Linked DNA regions of Homo sapiens: region 2 is linked to region 1. The links are contacts of gene promoters, found by promoter capture Hi-C in human tissues and cell types (Jung and others, 2019). All regions are on one chromosome and are shown on one strand. Each heading gives the region's core, a stretch centred on a gene start or on the middle of the fragment in contact. The rest is flanking DNA. Distances are from core to core; before and after follow the strand shown. Region 1 holds the start of CGNL1 (cingulin like 1). Region 2 overlaps GCOM1 (GCOM1, MYZAP-POLR2M combined locus).

Evidence for each region. Contacts are between HindIII fragments. The study calls those that stand out against the background at their distance.
Region 2: a contact is called between a fragment that was not itself captured here and the fragment with the promoter of CGNL1 in region 1, in 1 of the 25 tissues and cell types used here (neural progenitor cells).

Annotation. Positions count from the first base shown.
Region 1 is chr15:57,375,215-57,377,808 of GRCh38, reverse strand. CGNL1 (cingulin like 1) reads right to left here and starts at 1,304. Exons shown (of 19, transcript NM_032866.5): 1 at 1,242-1,304. The HindIII fragment of the contact is 14,520 bases long and covers 1-2,594 here.
Region 2 is chr15:57,683,210-57,685,803 of GRCh38, reverse strand. GCOM1 (GCOM1, MYZAP-POLR2M combined locus) reads right to left here. Exons shown (of 17, transcript NR_104371.3): 12 at 1,130-1,402. MYZAP (myocardial zonula adherens protein) reads right to left here. Exons shown (of 13, transcript NM_001018100.5): 13 at 440-1,402. The coding sequence ends at 1,306. Among named protein-coding and RNA genes, the nearest start is that of POLR2M, 22 kb to the left of the region's middle. The HindIII fragment of the contact is 8,067 bases long and covers 1-2,594 here.

The DNA of each region.
Region 1 (2,594 bases), core at 55-2,554:
CAAATTATCACTTGGTTTTCCCTGAATAGGACAACCCTGTATTATAACCTTGACCCTGACAAGGACTGCTCGGTTCTAATGCCTACACTCCCACCTCCTTGGCAGAAAGTGCCCTGGCAGTATTGACTGTAAACAGAGAGGTAGAAACAAAGGGATCTTCAGTAAAGGCACCATCTACTGTCTAAAGTTGGAAAGCACCAATCAACAGGTTCTTCAGGTGGAGAGGTGGATTAGGGAAGAGCTATGAGGACCTGAGATGAGTTCTAGATCAGGACTGATCTTGAGCCGTCCGAAGAGTGGCTGGTGGGAGCAACTCTCAAAGCAGAGGTTTTCAAACTTGCCTGCACATTAGAATCACCTGCGGCGTCTTAAAAATTCCATTGTCCAGGCTGCAACCCAGGCAAGCCGAATCCAGATCTCTGGGAGTGGGACACAGGCACCAGTATTTTTTAAAACTCTCCAGATGTGGGGCCAAGTTTGAGAACCAATGCCCGCAAAAGCATTCCCAGCGAGCTTTGAGCAACGTTTTGAGCGGCATAAGCAGAGTCGGGAGGGCAGCGGCCTTAGGGTGAAGAACACACAAAGCAAATATACAAAGTTTCAAAAATCCTGTGTAACTAACTCCAACATGACAGCCAAGTACCTGTCTAGAGGCCAAACAGTGATGCAACTTGGAAAAGTCCCGGGGAGAGCTAGAATGTGTGCTCCGAGTGAGGCGGGGGCTCTCTCGGGGATGACCTCCCTGGGCGGCGCAGTGGTCTGGAGGATCGGGGAGAGAAAGGTCACACGCCCCTTTCTTTCCAGGGGATGGTCCGGCCGAGCACGCCGAGGACTTGTGTACGACAGGATAGGTCAGAAACTGCTTCGTGTGAGTCTCTCCCAGCTGTCACTAGAGCCGGAGGGTCCAGGCAGGGGTGCGAAGGCAGAAAGTCCCTCTTCACTAAAGGGAGGTTCTGCAGGGCCTCCTCCCTCCCACCCCGCCCCGAAGCGGGTTCCCCAGGGATCGCCCGCATCTGTTCTGCGCCTGCCCTCGGCGGGGCGCGGCGCGGGAGTCCGGGTCGCATCTTCGAGCCCCAGGACACGCGCGGCGCGGGTCACCGAGAGTGGACGCGCGGACTGAGCACAGTGCACCTGGCTGAGCCCGAACCCCTGGGGGTCCCGCCGCCCTGGGCGGCCCCTAGCACCCCGAAACCCGGCTGCCGGCGCACACCCCGCCCCGCTCCAGCCCGGAGCTCACTCACCGCCGCCGCCGCCTCCTCCCGCGTCCAGCTCCCGCCGCAGCCAGCAGAGCCCGGCCGGAGTGCAAGGGCCGCGGCGCCGCCGGGAGGCCGAGCGAGCCCGCGCCCCGCCCCGCAGTCGCCGCCCGCCCTCCTGGGAGGAGGGGCAGGGGCTGGCCGGGGGCCTGGACCCGCCGGGGCTGCCGGCGGGCCCAACCCTCCCTTCAATCCGCCCGCGGCCCGTCGGGACGAACCTACCCAGGAACCCCCGCACCACCCGCCCTCGGCTCCGCTGGGCCCGGGGCTGCGCTTAGACCTCACCCCTTCCCGGAGCCGTTCGTCCTTCCACCTCCCCTCCGCCGTCACCGGGCATTTTTCTTCTCCCAGCCTCGGCCTCTCCAAATTCCTGGCCTGCAGGAAGCCCTCCCTATTTCGCGCTCTCGACTGCGCCGAGCTCAGTTTACCCCTTTCCCTTCCTTTCCCTGCTTAGCCTTTTTCCCCCTCACTGTCAGAAACTTAAGGGATAGCGCTCTTCTGCCACCGCAAACCCACACCTATTTATTGAGCACCTACTGTGTCTAGACACTGGTGGGGAGGTTATCCCACTTGCGCGGTAACAAGAAATGTCTGTCTCTGTTGGAGAAACAGTAAAGTGAGGCGCCTCGTAAGGTCACACAGCTGGCGGTAGTAGGGCTGGGATTCGAATACAGTTTTTAGGTCCTTGTTTAGACCCACCCCACGATAAACTGCGGCACGCCTCTCGCTAGCTGTGAGAACTTGGGCAAAATGTTATCAGTTCTAAACCCCAGTTCACTCATCCGTAAAATGAAAAGCTGGATACTTCACCAGCTATGAGGATTCCCTGAGAAAACAACAACCTGTACTTTTTTTTTTTTTTTTTTTTTTTGGAGATGGAGTCTTGCTGTTTTGCCCAGGCTGGAGTGCAGTAGCGCGATCTCGGCTCATTGCCTCTGCCTCCCGGGTTCAAGCGATTCTCGTGCCTCAGCCTCCCGAGTAGCTGGGACTACAGGTGGCCACCACTACGCGCGGCTAATTTTTGTGTTTTTAGTAGAGACGGGGTTTCACCACGTTGGTCAGGCTGGTCTCGAACTCCTGACCTTAAGTAATCTACCCGCCTCGGCCTCCCAAAGTGCTGGGATTACAGATGTGAGCCACTGCGCCCTGCCCAACCTGTACTTAATACATGTTTGCTGACATATTGAATGAAATAGACCCTTGAAAACTTAACAATTCAAAACAATATAAAAGGACTTGAAAAAGTAATAGGTTGGTGCAAAAGTAATTGCAGTTTTGCTATTACTTTCAATGGGAAAAGCCACAGTTACTTTTGCTCCGACCTAATAATAGTGATTCATT
Region 2 (2,594 bases), core at 51-2,550, 310 kb before region 1:
GGTCCCACGGACAGTGTTTAAATACAAATGTGGCTCCCAAATGCACATTTTCCTCTTAGCATGATTCTGACTCACAGTGATTTATCTAACTGAGTTGCTTTGCTTTCTTACTTTTTTATTTCTTTGGTTTTTTGGAAGTGGAGACAGTAAGGGGTGGGAGGTTTGAGGAAAGGTTTAAAAGTAAAATCTATTTTTGTACTTTGTGATCATTAAGGTATCTTGCTTTTTCCACATGGTGTATTAACTAAAGTTCAGCAATTAAAAAGACAGATAGGCCCCCCACCCTCCCCCGACACACACAGTCAATCTTATGGTTTACAGATGCTTGTATGAATTGTACTGGCTGGAAGATCATGTGATTTGACTTTGACACTCATTCCAGAGCCTGATCTGCTCTCTGCCCCTTCTACATGGTCATGGATGAAACAGAGAGACAACATTAGTAGAACAAAATATATGGTATTTATTAAACACATGTGACATAGGTTATAATATCAAAGTAGAGCATGCATGAACAGATGATTCATTCGTTTAACAAAAACACCAATTGATACTGAGAACACTAAATTATTAAATTTCCAAGACATATAAAATTCTCTTTAAGTTAAAGTGAGAAAGAAAAAAAAATCACTAGTTGAATAAATACAGTGATTTCAGCTGGTCCAATGAAAGCATAAGGCACAAATTAAACCAAGGGACTAGCGCATCAGAATGAAGCTTGTCTGGCCCACACAAGTCTCTCAGTGTGGCTCCCACGACCCTGCACAGATGCTTGGGACCAAGAGGAAAGAGCACCTGCAGGCCGGGAACCCTCCCTTCCAGGTTCAAGTTTGGCTGGGTGCCCATGCTTCTTGTGGACAGGCCTCTCTGTATCAGAGAAACGCTGCCTCTAATACTTTTATGGGTAAACAAAACCTTCATGCTCTATCAAACAATCCTGGCATGAATAACATGAAACTTCAAATTAATGTCCTTTTCCCTCCCAACCAAAGTCTAGCAAATAAAATACATTGTGAAGGAATCCTCCTGATAGGATTTCAGTGTCTACAAAGAAAACAAATGATGATGCAGTACGGCAGGGTATGCCGAGTGGGTGTCTGAAATGTGACCTTGTATATCCCTCTCTTACCTGCTCACTCTGCCTTCACTTTCCTTCCTGTCTTAGAAGTGGATCAGAGCCTCAGCGATTCCCATTCCGGCTTACACTGTGTGTAGGGGAAACAACAGTCACCCTTCCCAAAGGATTTGAAGCCACAGGGTTCCAGAGCTTTTGTCCATCTGTAAAAAGTGTATGCCTCTGAGTGCCTAAGTCAGAGTTTTCTTCATGGTTAACTCCAGGACTCTTGTGTATGGGGTGTAGTTCCTAGAAGGCATCACAATTTCACGAGTCCTGCCTGTTTGGCTGAGAAATGAGAAAATGCAGGTCAGGAAAATGAAACAAAACAAAACCCCCCATATGCTTCACATGGTAAGACAACTCTAGAAAATGGTGTTTAAGTGTTTAAAAATAAAAAGACAATAATGCAGCTTAATATTTCACTTAAATATTACAAACAGGCCCTGCAATGGACTTTACGTTTTCCCAAATTCATATTTTGAAATCCTAACCCCTAAGGTGATGTATTAGGAGGTGGGGACTTTGGGAGGTGATTAGGTCATGAGGGTGGAGCCCTCATGAATGGGATTAGTGGCCTTATGAGAGAGGCCCCAGGCCCAGCGTGGTGGCTCACGCCTGTAATCCCAGCACTTTGGAAGGCCGAGGCAGGGGGATCACCTGAAGTCGGGAGTTCGTGACCAGCCTGACCAACATGGAGAAACTCTGTCTCTACTAAAAATACAAAATTAGCTGGGCATGATGGCACATGCCTGTAATCCCAGCTACTCAGGAGGCTGAGGCAGAAGAACTGCTTGAACCCGGGAGGCAGAGGTTGCAGTAAGCCAAGTTCATGCCACTGCACTCCAGCCTGGGCAACAAGAGCTAAATTCCATCTCAAAAAAAAAAAGAGAGGCCCCAGAAATATTCATCATCATCCCTTCTGCTATGTGAGGACATAGCAAGAAGACACTATACATGAACCAGAAAGCAAGTCCTTGCCAAACACTGGATCTGCTGGCACCTTGGTCTTAGACATCCCAGCCTTCAGAACTGTGAGAAAAAAATTTCTGTTGTTTATAAGCTAACTAGTTTATGGTACTTTGTTATGGCAGCCAGAACAGACTACGACAGGTTAAAAATAAAAAAGTTATTTTTAACAACCTGTAAAGGTTGTACTAGGCATCCATGGTTCAGAAAAATATGAAACATGCATTCAAGGGACTTGTCACCTGGTGGGAAAGATATGTACATAAAAAATTTTCATGTACTGTGTTAGGAACTATAACAGAGACATAACAGCTGTGCTGGGCATTCTTCTTTTGCCATTCAGCCCTACTCTGCCCCTTCTCCACCCTACTCTGTGGCCCGGAAAAGTCAGCATCCATTTGCCCTTCAAATTCAGTTCCTTTTGGCCTACTGCAAGGTGGTAGCAGGGGATCAGGGAATGAGAGGACAAAGAGGTCGGGACATTTTTCCTTTCCCAGCCAGGCTGCAGCTT